Regions from separate parts of the Homo sapiens genome. Here all the other regions are linked to region 3. The links are contacts of gene promoters, found by promoter capture Hi-C in human tissues and cell types (Jung and others, 2019). All regions are on one chromosome and are shown on one strand. The core of a region is centred on a gene start or on the middle of the fragment in contact, and the rest is flanking DNA. Distances in the headings are between cores, read along the strand shown.

Region 1 (4,598 bases), core at 609-3,108, 420 kb after region 3:
TCCTTTCTTCCTGATCCTGTACAATGCAGAAGAAGAAGCCTGAAAAGGGAGAAGAGCTAATAGAACTCTAAATCCTCTATAAGATTAGGAATTTAAAACTGAACTAAGGTTTTACAAAAACCAGCTTTATTAAGATATAATTCACATACAATTCAACCATTTCAAATGTACAATTGAATGGTTTTTAGCACATTCACAGAAATGTTTTACCATTACCACAGTTGTAGAACATTTTTATCACCTCCAAAAGAAAACCTGTATCATTTAACTTTCACCCCCTCATCCCCCACCTCCAGCTCTAAGCAACCACTAATCTGTCTCTATAGATTTCTCTATTCTAGACTTACATGTGAATGGAATTATATAATATGCTGGGGGCGTTTGTGACTTGTTTCTTTCACTCAGCTTAATGCTTTAAGTTTCATCCAAGTAGTATGTACTTCCTTTTTATGGCCAATAATAGTCTATTGTGTAGACATACCACACTTTGCTTATCCATTTATAAGTTGATGGACATTTGAGTTGTTTCTACCTTTTGGCTATGATGAATAATGCTGCTACAAACATTCTTGTATAAGTTTTTGTGTGGTCACATGTTTTCATTTCTCCTGGGGACAGCCATAGGAGTGGAATTGCTGCGTCATATGGTGGCTTTTTTTTTTTTTTTTTTTTTTTGAGACGGAGTCTCGCACTCTCACCCAGGCTGGAGTGCAGTGGCGCAATCTTGGCTCACCGCAAGCTCCGCCTCCCAGGTTCACGCCATTCTCCTGCCTCAGCCTCCCGAGTAGCTGGGACTACAGGCACCTGCCACCACGCCCGGCTAATTTTTTGTATTTTTAGTAGAGATGGGGTTTCACCGTGTTAGCCAGGATGGTCTTGATCTCCTAACCTTGTGATCCACCCGCCTTGGCCTCCCAAAGTGCTGGGATTACAGGCGTGAGCCACCGTGCCCAGCCAGCTTTTTTTTTTTTTTTTAGACAGTGTCTCACTCTGTCACTCAGGCTGGAGTATGGTGGCATGATCAAAGCTCACTGCAGCCTCCCAGGCTCAGGTGATCCTCCCGCCTCTGCCCCCCAAGTAGCTGGGATTACAGGTGTGCGCCATCACATCTAACTAATTTTTGTATTTTCTGTAGAGAGGAAGGTTTGCCATGTTGCCCAGGCTGGTCTTGAACTCCTGGACTAAAGTGATCCTCCACCCACCTTGGCTGCCCAAAGTGCTGGGATTATAGGCGTGAGCCACCATACCTGGCCAGTAACTCTTATGTTTCATAATTTTAGGAACTTCCAGACTGTTTTCCAAAGTAACTTTGCCACTTTACATTCCCACCAACCGTCAATGAGGGTTTCAATTACTTTCTACCTTTGTCAACACTTAATCTGACTTGATTCTAGTCATCCTAGTGGGTGTGAAGTGGTATCTCAAAGTTTTGATTTCCATTTCCCTGATGACTAATTACGTTGACCATTTAAAAAATGTGTTTATTGGCCATTTGCATATCTTCCTTATGCAGAAAAAGAAATTTCTATTCATATCCTTTGCCTAATTTTTAATTGAGTTGTCTTTTCATTGTTTCGTTGTAACTTTGGTTATCAGGTCTCTCTCCGTCACCCAGGCTGGAGTACAGTGGTGCGATCATAGCTCACTATAACCCTGAACTCCTGGGCTCAAAGGATCCTTCTGCCTCAGCCTCTCCAGTAGCTAGGACCACACACATATGCCACACACCTAGCTAATTAAAAAAAAAAAAATTAAGAAACAAGGTATCTCCTTACTACCCAGGCTGGTCTCAAACTCCTGACCTCAAGTGATCCTCCCACCTCATCCTCCCAAAGTGCTGGTCAGGCATAAGCCACCGTGCCCAGCCCATTTTCTTGATAATAAGCTTCTTAAAGTACAAAAGTTGGCTGGGCGCAGTGGGTCACGCCTGTAATCCCAGCACTTTGGGAGGCCAAGGGGGGCAGATCACCTGAGGTCAGGAGTTTGAGCCCAGCCTGGCCAACATGGTGAAACCCGACTCTACTAAAAATACAAAACGTAGCCGGGCATGGTGGGGGCGCCTATAATCCCAGCTACTCGGGAGGGTGAGGCAGGAGAATCGCTTGAACCTGGGAGGCAGAGGTTGCAGTGAGCCGAGATCACGCCATTGCCCTCCAGCCTGGGCGACAGAGCAAGACTCCTTCTCAAAAAAAAAAAAAAAAAAAGTACAAAAGTGTTGACCAGGCACAGTAGCTCATACAATCCTAACACTTTGGGAGGCTAAGGAGGGCAGATCTCTTGAGCCCAGGAGTTTGAGACCAGCCTGGGCAACATGGTGAAACTCCATCTCTACCAAAACAAACAAACAAAAAACAATTAGCCGGGCATGATGACGTGCACCTGTAGTCCCAGCTACTTGGAAGGTTGAGATGGGAGGATCAATTTAGCCTGGGAGGTCGAGGCTGCAGTGACCCCAGACGGCACCATAGCACTCCAGCCTGGGTGACAAAGTGAGACCCTGTCTCAAAGAAAAAAGTTTTAAATTTTGATGAAGTCCAGTTTCTCTCTTTTTTGTTGCTCGTGATTTTGCTGTCATATCTAAGAATCCTTACATTTAGGTCTTTGATCCATTTTAAGTTTATCTTTGTATGTGGTGTGAAATTGTTACCAAAACACCAGGAGTTCGGTCTAGGTCCTGCTGCTCACCACACAGAAAGATGAGCAATACCTGCCCCTGAGATGACAGGTATTGCCAAAGAAGAAGGCTTTACTCAGGTGCTGCAGCAGAGGAAACCGGAACTCAGTCACAAATCCATCTCCCTGACCAACTAAAATTAGAGGTTTATATAGCAAGGAAGAAATGTAACAATGTGTAGGAAAACAGGAACTCAGGAGGCCAAGAAAGCACTTGTGACCAATGAGGGGTCTTGCACTTCATTGTCAGGATGGGATGATCTGGTTGAGTTTCAGTTCCTTGATACTTTTTTTGAGAGGCCTGGTGGCCCTTTCCTGAAGAAGGAACTCAACATAAAACAAATGTAAGTTTTAAGCTTTAAGACCAGAAGGTCAATTTCTTTTTCTTTTTTCTGTTTTTTTTTTTTCTTTTTTTTTTTTTTTGAGACGGGTCTCCATCTGTCACCCAGGCTGGAGTGCAGTGGCATGATCTCAGCTCACTGCAACCTCTGCCTCCCAGGTTCAAGCAATTTTCCTGCCTCAGTCTCCTGAGTAGCTGGGATTACAGGTGTGTGCTACCACACCCAGCTAATTTTTATATTTTTAGTAGACATGGGGTTTCGCCATGTTGGCCAGGCTGGTCTCAAACTCCTGACCTCAGGTGATCCGCCCTCCTCGGCCTCCCAAAATGCTGGTATTATAGGCGTGAGCCACCACGCCCAGCAAGAAGGGTCAATTTCTGTTGAAACAAAAAAAACTATGGGACTATTGGGTTCATTTCAAAATAAGGGTCTAACTTAATTCTTTTGCATGTGGCTATCCAGTTGTCCCAGCACCATTTGTTTTCTTTCCTCACCGAATTTTCTTGGTACCCTAGTTTAAAATTACTTGGTCATAGATACATGGGTTTATTTCTGGACTCTCAATTTTTTTTTTTTTTTTTTTGAGACAGAGTCTCACTCTGTCGCCCAGGCTCGAGTGCAGTAGCATGCTCTCGGCTCACTGCAACCTTTGCCTCCTGGTTTCAAGTGATTCTCCTGCCTCAGCCTCCCAAGTAGCTGGGGCTACAGGCATGCATCACCATGCCTGGCTAATTTTTGTATTTTTTTTTATTTTTTGAGACAGAGTCTCGCTCTGTCACCCAGGCTGGAGTGCAGTGGCGTGATCTCGGCTCACCGCAAGCTCTGCCACCTGGGTTCATACCATTCTCCTGCCTCAGCCTCCGGAGTAGCTGGTACTACAGGTGCCCACCACCACGCCCAGCTAATTTTTTGTATTTTTAGTAGAGACGGGGTTTTACCGTGTTAGCCAGGATGGTCTCGATCTCCTGACCTCATAATCCGCCTGCCTCGGCCTCCCAAAGTGCTGGGCTTACAGGCATGAGCCATCGTGCCTGGCCATAATTTTTGTATTTTTTTTTTTTGGTCGAGACAGGGTTTCATTATGTTGGCCAGGCTGGTGTTGAACTCCTGACCTCAAGTGATCCGCCTGCCTCGGCCTCCCAAAGTGCTGGGATTACAGGCGTGAGCCACCGTGCCTGGCCCTGGACTCTCAATTCTATTCCATTGATTTGTATGTCTGTCTTTGTACCAGTACCATAGTTTTGATTACTGTAGCTTTTAGTGAGTTTTTGAAATTGGGAAGTATGAGTCCTCTTACTTTGTTTTTCTTTTTCAGAATTTTCTTGATGGAGTAAGGTTTTGGGTTTTTTTTTCCTGTTTTCCTTATGTAAATTTATTTTTTTTTTTTGAGGTGGGGTCTCGCTCTGTTGCGCAGGCTGGAGTGCAATGACTCGGTCTCGGCTTACTGCAAACTCCGCTTCCTGAGTTCAAGCAATTCTGCCTCAGCCTCCCAAGTAGTTGGGATTACAGGTGCCCGCCATCACACCTGGCTAATTTTTGTATTTTTAGTAGAGACGGGGTTTCACCATGTTGTCCAGGCTGTTC
Region 2 (4,070 bases), core at 923-3,422, 340 kb after region 3:
GCACTTGGCCTTTTAATTTCACTACCTGAAAAAGTTTTCATGCCATCAGTGGAACTCATAGAAAATTTTCATTACAAAAATAAATAAAAATTTTCCAATTTCTATAACCCTAAAACTCTTGTCATTGTCCTTGAGGCACCAATATTTTTCAATATTAAAACAAAATGAGAGTAAAAACTAAGTGATTAAACATGGAAGCATATTTCTCATGCTTCCTTTCAGAGACTTAAGCTTTTTTTTTTTTTTTTGAGACGGAGTCTCCCTCTGTCGCCCAGGCTGGAGTGCAGTGGCACGATCTCTGCTCACTGCAACCACCACCCCTCGGGTTCAAGCGATTTTCTTGCCTCAGCCTCCCGAGTGGCTGGGACTACAGGCGCGTGCCACCACGCCCAGCTAATTTTTTGTATTTTTAGTAGAGACGGGGTTTCACCATGTTAGCCAGGATGGTCTTGATCTCCTGACCTTGTGATCCGCCCGCCTCGGCCTCCCAAAGTGCTGGGATTACAAGTGTGAGCCACCGTGCCCAGACTTTTTTTTTTTTGAGACGGAGTCTCGCTCTGTCACCAGGCTAGAGTGCAGTGGCGCAATCTCGGCTCACTACAACCTCCGACTCCCTGGTTCAAGCGATTCTCCTGCCTCAGCCTCCCAAGTAGCTGAGATTATAGGCACGTGCCACCACGCCCAGCTAATTTTTGTATTTTTAGTATAGACGGGGTTTCACCATGTTGGCCAGGATGGTCTCGATTTCCCGACCTCGGGATCCGCCTGCCTCGGCCTCCCAAAGTGCTAGGATTACAGGCGTGAGCCACTGAGCCCGGCCAGAGACTCAAGCTTTCTTATTAGGTTGGTGCAAAAGTAATTGCATTTTTTGCCATTTAAAAAAATGGCAAAAAATCACAATTTCTTTTGCACCAACCTAATACTATTCTAGTCAAATAGGAATAATAACTTATTTCCAGGAAGGAAAAGACTGTTTCCCTACTTCCCTTGGGAAATCCATTAAAGATACTCTGACCTAGCTTTACAAGTCTATACCAGAAATTTGGTAAGTTTAAGGACACAGAATATAGCTTATATATTGCTCTTCAATCCTATTTTTTCCCCGAAACCTGAGAACATCTGTTTTCTTTTCTTTTTCTTTTTTTTTTTTTTTGAGATGGAGTCTCGCTCTGTCGCCAGGCTGGAGTGCAGTGGTGCAATCTTGGCTCACTGCAACCTCGCCTCCAGGGTTCAAGTGATTCTCCTGCCTCAGCCTCCTGAGTAGCTGGGGACTAGAGGCGTGCACCATCACGCCCAGCTAATTTTTGTATTTTTAGTAGAGACGGGTTTTCACCATGTTGGCTAGGCTGGTCTCAAACTCCTGACCTCAAATGATCCGCCTGCCTTGGCCTCCCAAAGTGCTGGGATTATAGGTGTGAGCCACTGCACCCAGATGAGAGCATCTGTTTTCACAGCATCTACAGAGGTTTCCATAAATAAAATTAAGTTGGCTTTAGTCTTGTTTTGCTTTTATTTTTTAAAAGTAATTTTAGTTATTTTATTTTTTATTTTATTTTATTTTTAGACAGTCTTGCTCTATCGCCCAGGCTGGAGTGCAGTGGGGCAATCTTGGGTCACTGCAACCTCTGCCTCCTGGGTTCAAGCAATTCTCATGCCTCAGCCTCCCAAGTAGCTGGGACTACAGGCATGAGCCACCATACCCGGCTAATTTTTGTATTTTTAGTAGAGACAGGGTTTCAAGATGTTGGCCAGGCTGGTTCAAACTCCTGGCTTCAAGTGATCACCTGCCTCAGCCTCCCAAAGTGCTGGGATTACAGGCATGAGCGACCATGCCCAGCCAATTTTAGGTTATTTTAGATACTAGTCTCATGGAATAGAAAATAATCTTTTAACTCTATATTCCTAAAAATTAAAAAAATAAAAATAAACAGTATTAGAAGCTAACCACTTATTTTGTAATACTACGTATCAAATACTGGGTGATGTGTTTTATATTCATTACCTTATTTAATCTTCCCAACAACCGTCTGAATTTAGGTACTATTAATATATTCATTGTATCAATAACGACACTACTGAGACTTAAAGAGGTTAATTAACTTGTCTAATACAAAGTAAAAACCGTTATCAAAAGCCATGTCTATAAAATTCACCAGATATTTTCAGGAGCTGGAGCCTGAGAATGACAATTAACAGTCAGCTTATATAATTCATTACGACTCTCACTCATCCATAAAAGAACAGTCTAGGCTGGGCGCAATGGCTCATGCCTGTAATCCTAGCACCTTGGGAGGCTGAGGTGGGTGGATCACGAGGTCAGGAGATCGAGACCATCCTGGCCAACGTGGTGAAACCCCGCCTCTACTAAAAATACAAAAATTAGCTGGGCGTGGCAGCATGTGCCTATAATCCCAGCTACTCGGGGGGCTGAAACAGGAGAATCGCTTGAACCTAAGAGGCAGAGGTTACAATGAGCTGAGATTGCACACTACACTCCACCCTGGCGACAGAGCTAGACTCCTTCTAAAAAAAAAAAAAAACTATATAAAATGAATTTTTCTACTACAAGCTTAGTGAAGTATACAATTTTCTTTTTTATCTTTTTTTTTTTGAGACAGAGTCTAGCTCTGTCATCCAGGCTAGAGTACAGTGGCATGATCTCAGTTCACAGCAACCTCTGCCTCCCAGGTTCAAGTGATTCTCGTGCCTCAGCCTCCCGAGTACCTGGGATTACAGGCATGCACCACCATACCAGGCTAATTTTTTGTATTTTTAGTAGACATGGGGTTTCACTGTGTTGGCCAGGCTGGGCTTGAACTCCTGGCCTCAAGTGATCCACCTGCCTCAGCCTCCCAGAGTGCTGGGATTATAGGCGTGAGCCACCATGCCCAGACGAGGAAAACATCTATTTTCACAGCATCTACAGAGGTTGGGCGCATGAGCCACCATGCCTGGCGCAATAGTTTAAATACCTTAAAGACAGCTCCTTGGATACAGTTAATTGAATACAAGACAGTAAATAGCCAAAGCCAAACAGAAATACCTTGGGCATTATCCATAATTTCAAAGTATTAGTCCTTTTCTATTCCTTAAAAATGCAGATTAACTACTAAAGAACATAAAACTGTAGTGCCTGCCACAGTGTTCAGTTAATCAGTAGTCAATATTTATGGAGTGAATATGACAAATATTTATTCAGAACCAAACCAGGAAAAAAGTTACCTGTTGGAAGCTGTCTCTTAGAAGCTGCTGGTCTTCAGGATGACAGAATTCTACAATATTCTTTCCTAAGAGTTCCTAGAATACAGAAAGAAGAGTAAGATATATACTTTTTTTTTTTTAAGATGGAGTTTCGCTCTTGTTGCCCAGGCTGGAGTACGATGGCGCGATCTTGGCTCACTGCAACCTCCACCTCCTGAGTTCAAGCAATTTTCCTGTCTCAACCTCCCAAGTAGCTGGGATTACAGGGGTGTGCTACCACACCTGGCTAATTTTGTATTTTTTTAAATAGAGACAGGGTTTCACCATGTTGGTCAGGCTGGTCTCGAACTCCTGACCTCAAGTGATCCACCCGCCTCGGCCTCCCAAAGCGCTGGGATTACAGGTGTGAGCCACCGTGCCCAGCCAACATATATAATTTTATGGTCATCTAACTGGCCTGGTCCATCAGCTGGGGACCTGGATTTTATTTCTTCTGTTTTAATCCTAAGATTATAGTTAAGTGAGGAGGAGAAAAAAAAAAGACAATAAACAAAAGATGAAATCTACTAAAAAAAGGCAGAATCTGTTAAGGAGCTGGCTTCTAAAACATTTTTCTTTCTCAGAATATTATACATTTATTTTAATGAGATTATAAATTTTAGATAAAATTTACATTCATAATTCAGCCATTCTAAGTGTATGATTTGATGATGTCTACTAAATTTATAGTTGTGCAATGATTACCACAATCCAGTTTCAGAACACATTCACTGCCCCAAGATGTTCCCTTGTGCCATCTGCAGTCAATCTCTGCTCCCACTCCAACTCCCCAGCCAACCACAAATCTGCTTTCTGCCTCTCTAGTTCTG
Region 3 (4,458 bases), core at 1,885-4,384:
TAGCGCCACTGCACTCCAGCCTCGGCGACAGAGCAAGACTCTGACTCAAAAAAAATTAGCTGGGTGTGGTGGCGTACACCTGTAATCCCAGCTACTGGGGAAGCTGAGGCAGGAGGATCACTTGAACCCAGGAGGCGGAGGTTGCAGTGAGCCAAGATCATGCCACTGCACTCCAGCCGGGCAACAGAGCAAGACTTCACCTCAAAAAAAAAAAAAAAAAAAAAAAAAAGAATAGATGTTTCCTAGGCTGACTAATGGATTAAAATTCCCCAATACTGAGGCATATGCTAGTCACAAGTCCGAAGTTGTAGAAGAACCAGTAACTCATGAATTGGCCTTAGCTTGCTCTTGCACTTGCTTACTTGCTTGCTTGCTTCTTACAGAGGGCGGATGGAATAACTCAACATTCCTTCCTTCCTCCACTGCAACACAAGTTACATAGGTGATGATGTGGTAGTTGATTGATCGGCATCCCCTCAGCACCCAGCTCACTGCATTGCACACAGTAAGCAGTTAGTAAATGAGAGCATCAAATCAATACCGTGATTGGTACATACTTGATTCAATAATTATTGGGCACCTACCATTTTGTTGCCTGCAATACACCTTTCCCCTTTTGGTGCAGAGGCATGAGAAGAATTCTGCCTGTTGCCACCCTTTCTGAATGCCATTTAAAAATTCTTAACTACCTTCTCCAAACCACACACACACAAGTTATCTTCCTCTCCCACACTCTTGTCTCTTTCTCTTTGTATTTCAGGGTGTCTACCAGAAGATGGACCCAAGATCCATGGAGGCTCCTGTGACTCAGATCAACTGCCCTGCCCGGGAAACCTGGTCTCTCCGGAAACCTTGATTAAACTGCTTTTTCTGACACCTCTTCCTCTACAACCCTTGATTCTATCACCATTGAAACTTCAGAACCAACTCTAACCATCCCCACCTCCAGGTGAGGGGACTAATGAGAATTACTGACAGCCTGATGGCTACCCCCAAGTCAGTTTCCCTTCATACTTTACTACAAATCTGACCATGTTCCCATATTTACTGAGTAAATTTGATGAAATTTACCTAGTCCTGTGTCCTAGATGTATCAGGGAGAGGGAAGAGAAAGGATAAAGGAAGTTGAGAGCTGGGATAGGAATTAGAGGCAAAGGGCTTATGTAGGGAGCAGAGAGCTAAAATTCTAGTCAGGCACCTCTTTCTGAGGTGATGGGGGAGTATACTGGGAGCAAACTCTTCTAGAGAAAGCATGGTGTGGTAAAAGAAAACCAAGCTTGGATTCAGAAATCACCATCAGCACTTGCTGTTTGACCTTAAATTCCTCATCTGTCAGATTAAAAGGTCTCGGCCGGGCATGGTGGCTCACGCCTGTAATCCCAGCACTTTGGGAGGCTGAGGCAGGCGGATCACCTGATGCTGGGAGTTCGGGACCAGCCTGACCAACATGGAGAAACCCTGTCTCTACTAAAAATACAAAATTAGCTGGGCCTGGGGTGGCACATGCCTGTAATCCCAGCTACTCGGGAGGCTGAGGCAGGAGAAGCGCTTGAACCTGGGGAGGCGGAGGTTGCGGTAAGCCGAGATCACGCCACTGCACTCCAGCCTGGGCAACAAGAGTGAAACTCCATCTCAAAAAAAAAAAAAAAAGATTAAAAGGTCTATAAAGTCCCTATTAAGCACCATGAGTATAAAGGGACTCAAACTGACCTCTGCAGATTCTTGATTCCAGCTTTTTTGTTTTTGTTTTGTTTTGAGATGAAGTCTCGCTCTTGTCCCCCAGGCTGGAGTGCATGGCGTGATCTCGGCTCACTGCAACCTCCACCTCCCGGGTTCAAGCGATTCTCCTGTCTCAGCCTCCCAAGTAGCTGGGATTACAGGCGCCCACCACCATGCCCAGCTAATTTTTGTATTTTTAGTAGAGACGGGGTTTCACCATGTTGGCCAGGCTGGTCTAGAACTCCTGACCTCAGGTGATCCACCCGCCTCGGCCTCCCAAGTAGCTGGGATTACAGGCGCCCACCACCACGCCCAGCTAATTTTTGTATTTTTAGTAGAGACGGGGTTTCACCATGTTGGCCAGGCTGGTCTAGAACTCCTGACCTCAGGTGATCCACCTGCCTCGGCCTCCCAAAGTGCTGGGATTACAGCGTGAGCCACTGCGCGCGGCCATCTTTGCTCCAGCTTTAAAGTGGTTACTCCAGAGGCTGAGGTGGTCAGTTGAGCCCAGGAGGTCGAGACTGCAGTGAGCCATGATTGTACCCCTGCACTCCAGCCTGGGCAACGGTGAGACCTTGTCTCAAAATTAAAAAATAAAACTGTTACAGTCATTTATCATAATAGCTTCTTGTTGCTTTTGCCCATTACCAAAAAACCATGGGCCACACTAGACGATTTACATAAAATTTAACTCAACAATTGGGAGCAACACTATTCTCATTTTATAGTTGAGAAAATTGAGGCTTAGAGAAATTAAATAGGTCAGGCAAGGCGGCTCATGCCTGTAATTCCAGAACTCTGGGAGGCCGGAGCGCGGTGGCGGTTTGGTGGGGGGGAGGGGAGGGATTGCTTGAGGCCAGGAGTTCGAGACTACCCTGGCCAACATAGTGAGACCCGCCCCCCCCTCCCGCCCCCCCCGGTCTCTATTAAATAAATATGAGAAGTTTAATAATTTTCCCAAAATTACATAGTTAATGGCAGATCCAGAATTTACACTAGGTCTGTCTGGTTCCCCAGTCTATGCTCTTAAGTTTTGCTACTTGCTGTAAGGACCACGTAAAATAAAATGTATAGTTAAAGGGAAATTACTACCATTTCCTGTCTGGTTTTCTCCCACTCTCGCCCTCAAAAGTTCACCTGCCCTTGTCCTCAAAGCCACAGGACGCCTAATTGCTATTTTTGGGTTTCAGCTGAAACGCCACGGGTCTGGGGGAATAGCGAGGGTGTGTTACATTTTCGGTCTTCCGGTCAGCCGGAACCACTCACACCGCTGCTGGTGCTGTGTAGGGTGTACCTCTTCGGAGTTCCTGGAGGTGGTGCCAGACTAGAGTGGCAGCTGTAGTAACCAATAGACACGGACTTTGTTGGACCAGAAGCCAATGAAGAATTACGTGGAGGAGAAGCGGCGATAATCTGTTTGAGGATGTAGGCACTGGTGTGAAGGAACATGGCCCTGTATCAGAGGTGGCGGTGTCTCCGGCTCCAAGGTTTACAGGCTTGCAGGCTACACACGGTGCGTGAGGCACCCCCAAAGCTCCGATCCGCATCAGACTTAGCCCAGCCGAAGCCCCCAAATTTTTATGTTAACCCAGCCTCACGCCACTCCTCCTCTCCCTGGTCCTCCGAGTCCCCAGAAAAGGACTCGTATCTAAACTCGTTATCTAATTCTCGAGTTAGCGGTCTGGGGGACTCTGAGCTCGAAGGACCCCCAGCCTAGGGTCTTGTATCACCCAATCCCCTTAAAAAGTAGGAATTCGGACGAAGTCCACTTAACCATCCCAAAGTGCCATCATCTGCAATTCTAAGAAAGAATGATGGGACGTGTGTTACCTGCTAATATATCTTTCCCTCCAGGCAGTTGTGTCGACCCCTCCACGCTGGTTGGCAGAGCGGCTTGGCCTTTTTGAGGAGCTGTGGGCTGCTCAGGTAAAGAGATTAGCAAGCATGGCACAGAAGGAACCCCGGACTATTAAGATATCACTTCCTGGAGGCCAGAAAATTGATGCTGTGGCATGGAACACAACCCCCTACCAACTAGCCCGGCAGATCAGGTAACAGGCCCATCCTGTAACTACCAGGATTATCCTTCTGCCCCTTTACTTTCTCTTCACTTGAGCAGGGGAAGAAAACTTGGTCTGCTTGTTTCTGTTCCGTCCCCATTAAGATAGCCTTTCCTGAAGATTTTGTTTTTGTTTTTTGTTGTTGTTCTTTTATACAGACGGGGTCTCTCCATGTTGCCCAGGCTAGTCTTGAACTCCTGGGCTCAAGCGATCCTTCCATCTCAGCCTCCCGAAGTGCTGGGATTACAGGCATGAGCCACCAAACCCGGCCTGAGATTTGTTTTATCTGTATTAGTTTCTGCATCAGAGTCTCTGTCCTTTCATTGGGGAAAGAAATGAAAGCTTCTGTTGCTCTGGTAACTCATTTCACCTTTGCAAGTTTACAGTTGCTGAGAGATGAGCAACTTTCTCCCCACTGTGGATTGTAACCCTGTCTGTTTTAAATCATTAATTTACTTTTTAATAATTGATACATAATAATTGAACATATGAATGGGTATATGTGATATTTTGATATATGCATACAATATGTAATGATCAAATCAGGGTGTTCAGGATATCTGTTACCCCAAACATTTATCATTTCTTTGTGTTGGGACTATTTCAAATCTTCTAGCTATTTTGAAATATACAATAAATTATTATTAACTGTATTCACCCAACTCTGCTATGGAACATT
Region 4 (4,474 bases), core at 1-2,500, 280 kb after region 3:
ACACCCAGCTTAAATATTTACTGAAAACACTGCCTGTAAGAACACAATTTTAAGAGGTAGAAAACAGTACTCCTTTAAAAGCATATCGCTCGAGTGGCAATCCAATCTACCTTTTCCTTGTATTGTTTGCCATAGGTTTTCTTCCAGAGATGCCAGTGGTGATCCAGGGTAGGATCTTTATGCAACTGTGCCACTGCAGAGGAGCACACCAAGAGCACACAAACCAGCCGTTTCATTCTGTGTAAGGAAAGGTAACATAGGAAGTGTTGCTATTAGCTGCATATGTTGTGACCACATGTTTTCATAAGAGAAAATAACAATGCAAAGTCTATCAAAGGGACAGACTATTATAAACAGAATTATACAGGAAAATTCCTGGGATATATAGTCACAGGGAACAGCTGCAGATTTATGTCAGAAATACTACTTCCAATGCTTAGTAGCACTTTAAAAAGTGATTTCCAGGAATTTCCCAATATCTGGTAAACCAAACACATCTAGAGGGTTAGAAAACAGGGACTTTCCAGGATTTGCCAACAAATCTAATCAAAGGAAATCTCTTTCTCTCTCTCTCAAAAAAAAAAAAAAATCATCCTTAAGAGAGACAAACCTCTGAAAAATCAGTTTATCTCCTGAATTTTTGAATACATGGGCTCTTCTTAACTGACCTGTTTAAATATCCACAGTCTTTACAGATAGTTAAAAGACAATTCTCATCTATTGCTTTCACATCTTTAGGTAGGTAATTTTCCTTTTTACGTTTTTTTTTTTTTAATGATCAGACATCTGTTTCAAATGAGGCAATTAACTACTCTTTAAAATGCCACTTCTGTATTTAATTCAAGAGACATCAACAGAAATTCAGCGACTAGCTCCCTCAAACTGGATTCTACTTTCTTTTCCATTTCTTTTTAATTGAAAACATCTGGAATTTTAAACATGTAAGCCTTTAAATTATATTCCAAAGAAAGCCATGTTTCAGTCTCAACTTAGATGCTTAGATGCTCAAGCAGACATTAACTTTTTAAAAATAGAGAAGAGGCAAATTGAACGACACGATTTTTTAGTTTACTTCCTGAAACCAAAGATTTAAAACCTAGCAGGCAGAACAAGTTACAAACACAGAGTGTTTGAAGACCAAATGGGAGAAAAAGAACAAAGAGTACATACGTGATAGAACCAGCAGTTGCTCCCACAGTAAGAGTCCTTGAATTAGTGGGCTCTCTTCTAAGATTTCAAAGCAACAAGGAGATTTCAGTTCAATTGACTTGAAAAGAAATTGGAACTTGTCACATGAGGTACTCAAAATGAGGAAGTGAACTTTCATTTCAGTTTCATTTAAAATCTAGCTAGTACAGTCACCTCTAGTCATTTCCCTATGGTCTTGGGGACAAAGTGGATACAGTAAGCCATCAAGAAGAGCCCTTGTCTGAGCCCAGTGGCTCATGCCTATAATCCCAGCACTTTGGGAGGCTGAGGCGGGAGGATCACTTGAGGCCAGGAGTTCAAGACCAGCCTAGGCAATATAGTGAGACCCTGTCTCTGCAAAAAAATTTTTTTTAATTAGCTGGGCATGGTGGTGCATGCTTGTAGTCCCAGCTGAGGGGGAGGGTGAGGTGGGAGAATTGCTTGAGTCTAGGAGGACAAGGCTGCAGTGAGCCATGATTATGCCACTGTGTTTCAGCCTGGATGACATATCAAGACCCTATCTCAAAAAAAAAATTAAATTGAATTTTAAAAACACCAACTTTTACATGGAAAACATTTAGTTATAAAGAGATTTAGATAAAGCTCCCCAAATCCCAGCTCCTTGTATGATTTCCTAGGAAAACCTGTCTTACTGCTTTTAACACAACTCATTCATGATCTGATATTGTCTGGTTCTCACTCAGCCATTCCTTCGTTCATCAAACTCAAAATGTCTTTATTAATATATACTATATGTATAGTTTAGTAATATGCGTGTGTGTGTGTGTGTGTGTGTGTATGTGTTAGTATATTCATGGAAAAAAGGATACACTCAAATATATCCAATTGAGAATGATTACCTGGGTGGGGTGGGAGCAAGACGAACTATCATCTTTTAAATTTGCATTTTCCTAATTACTAATGAGGTTGAGGATCTTTTCACACATTTATTGACCGTTTGAATTTTCTGTGAATTTCCTGTTCATCTTTTTTGCTCATTTTTCTATTGTATTGTTGCATTTTCTTAGTGATTTGTGGGAGGTGTGTGTGTGTGTGTGTGTTGTGTGTTTTCCGAGACGGAGTCGTGCTTTGTCTCCCATGCTGGAGTGCATTGGTGCGATCTTGGCTCACTGCAACATCCACCTCCCAGGTTCAAGCGATTCTCTGCCTCAGACTCCCAAGTAGCTGGGATTACAGGCACCTGCCAGCATGTCCAGCTAATTTTTGTATTTTTAGTAGAGACAGGGTTTCACCATCTTGGCCAGGCTGGTCTTGAACTCTTCACCTCGTGATCCACCCGCCTCAGCCTCCCAAAGTGCTGGGATTACAGGTGTGAGCCACCGTGCCCGGCCAAGGTGTATGTGTTTTAAAAATATATTCTGGCTTCTAATCTTTGACAGTTATATACCCTTAAAAACATCCTCCCTTAGTCTTCCACTTGTCTTTTATTTTATTTTTTCTTCCTTTGCATAAGCCTATGAAATTCCACTTGTCCTTTAGTCTTGTTTATAGTGAGTTTTTCTATATGAAATTTTTTTATGTTGAGGTAGAACATTTTATTCAGCTTTTCCGTATAATCAATCTATACTGTTTTTGTATAAGAAAATTTTCCTCATCCAAATGTAATAAAGATACACTCATCTTATTTTTATACTTTCAGAGAGTGTTTTATTTATCTTTTCTATGGCTACTGCTTTTAGGTGTTTAATTCACCTGGAATTTAGTTTTGTGTATGGTATGACGTAGGGAGCTTATTTTCTTTGTTTTCCAATTTTGATTCTACCTCTATTGTACACCAAATTCTCATACATAGATAGGTCAGTTTCTGAGCTCATGAAGCTGTTCTTTTTATCTTTTGCTACTTCAGTATCACACAGTTTTAATTAAAACAGCTTTGTAATATGTCTCCACGTATGGTAAGGCAAGTCATCTAGGCCACCCTATCTTTGTTCTTCTTTTTAAACATTGTCTTTGTATTTTGTACTTGTTAACTCTTCTTTATATGAATTTTTTGAATCAGTTTATCAAGTTCCCTGAAAAACTCTGTTGGAGTTTTTTGCTTTTTTCTTTTGGAGACAGGGTTTCATTCTGTCACCCAGGCTGGAGTGCAGTGATGCAATCATGGCTCACTGCAGCCTTGACCTCCTGGGCTCAAGTGATCCTCCCGCCTCAGCCTCTGGAGTGGCTGGGACTACAGGTGCACACCACCATGCCTGGCTGATTTTGTTTTTTGTTTTTTGTAGATAAGGGGTTTCACCATGTTGCCCAGGCTGGCCTCAAACTCCTGGGCTCAAGCAATCTGCCCACCTTGGCCTCCTGAAGTGCTGGGATTACAGGCATGAGCCCCCACATCTGGCTATTAGAGTTTTTATTTGAATATATGCATAAATTTAGGGAGAAGTAACATCATTATAATGTTGATTCATCTCAGCTGTAGTAGACATGTTTGTGTTTGTAGCCATACAGTTTTTTTTAAAAAGATACTGCTTATGGAAAATTTAAAACACATGTAAAAGTAAAAATAGTAGTAAAATGAGCTGCCGTGAAACCATTGTCTTGTTTCAACAATGATCAGTACATGGCCAATCTTATTTTATTTATATTCCCACTCTCACTACCTGAATTATATTAAATAAATTCTAGACATTCTGTCATTTCATACGTAAATGTCCCTGTGTGTGTCTTTAAAAGACAGAGACTATTAAACAAATATAATACCACAATACCATCATCACATCTAAAATAAATGAACAATAATTTTCTTTTTTTTTTTTTTCTGAGACAGAGTCTCACTCACTTGCCCAGGCTGGAGTGCAGTGGTGTGATCCCAGCTCACTGCAATCTCTGCCTGCCGAGTTCAAGCGATTCTCCTGCCTCAGCCTCCCAAGTGGCTGGGATTACAGGCATGTGCCATCACACCCAGCTAATTTTTGTATTTTTAGTAGAGATGGGGTTTCACCACATTGGCCAGGCTTGTCTCGAACTCCTGACCATAGGTAATCTGCCCACCTCAGCCTCCCTAAGTACTGGGTTTACAGGTGTGAGCCACTTTATTGTCATAAGAAATTAAGACAATAATTTCTTAATGTCATCAGACATCCTATCAATGTTCACATTTTCTGGACTGTCTTATACATTTTTTAATAGTTTGTTTGAATTGAGATTTAAATAAGCTCCATATATTGTGAAACCATTGAGTTATGTTTATATCATTATGAATTCATGGATTTAAACATATTTGATGTGTTTCAATCCATTCCAGTTTTATCCTTATTGATACTCATAT

The links. The method cuts DNA at HindIII sites, captures the fragments that hold promoters and counts their contacts. A contact is called where the count stands out against the background at its distance.
Region 1: a fragment that was not itself captured here is called in contact with the fragment with the promoter of TARS2 in region 3 in 1 of the 25 tissues and cell types used here (pancreas).
Region 2: a contact is called between a fragment that was not itself captured here and the fragment with the promoter of TARS2 in region 3, in 1 of the 25 tissues and cell types used here (aorta).
Region 4: the fragment with the promoter of CTSS here is called in contact with the fragment with the promoter of TARS2 in region 3 in 1 of the 25 tissues and cell types used here (IMR-90 fibroblasts).

The regions. Positions count from the first base shown.
Region 1 is chr1:150,907,053-150,911,650 of GRCh38, forward strand. All of the region lies in intron 1 of CTXND2 (cortexin domain containing 2), which reads left to right. LOC107985204 (a long non-coding RNA gene) reads right to left here. Exons shown (of 3, transcript XR_001738231.2): 2 at 1-39. Among named protein-coding and RNA genes, the nearest start is that of SETDB1, 17 kb to the right of the region's middle. The HindIII fragment of the contact is 6,057 bases long and covers 1-4,598 here.
Region 2 is chr1:150,823,321-150,827,390 of GRCh38, forward strand. It overlaps ARNT (aryl hydrocarbon receptor nuclear translocator), which reads right to left. Exons shown (of 22, transcript NM_001668.4): 13 at 3,223-3,297; 14 at 1-25. Among named protein-coding and RNA genes, the nearest start is that of CTSK, 17 kb to the left of the region's middle. The HindIII fragment of the contact is 6,293 bases long and covers 1-4,070 here.
Region 3 is chr1:150,484,285-150,488,742 of GRCh38, forward strand. TARS2 (threonyl-tRNA synthetase 2, mitochondrial) reads left to right here and starts at 3,135. Exons shown (of 18, transcript NM_025150.5): 1 at 3,135-3,232; 2 at 3,574-3,770. The coding sequence starts at 3,167. It overlaps LOC124904416 (a long non-coding RNA gene), which reads left to right and starts at 227. Exons shown (of 2, transcript XR_007066600.1): 1 at 227-505; 2 at 761-1,070. RefSeq lists enhancers at 2,960-3,466, 2,960-3,229. The HindIII fragment of the contact is 6,321 bases long and covers 1-4,458 here.
Region 4 is chr1:150,764,528-150,769,001 of GRCh38, forward strand. It overlaps CTSS (cathepsin S), which reads right to left and starts at 1,251. Exons shown (of 8, transcript NM_004079.5): 1 at 1,171-1,251; 2 at 111-237. The coding sequence starts at 236. RefSeq lists enhancers at 142-191, 1,122-1,266, 1,125-1,269 and cis regulatory regions at 1,194, 1,197. The HindIII fragment of the contact is 11,511 bases long and covers 1-4,474 here.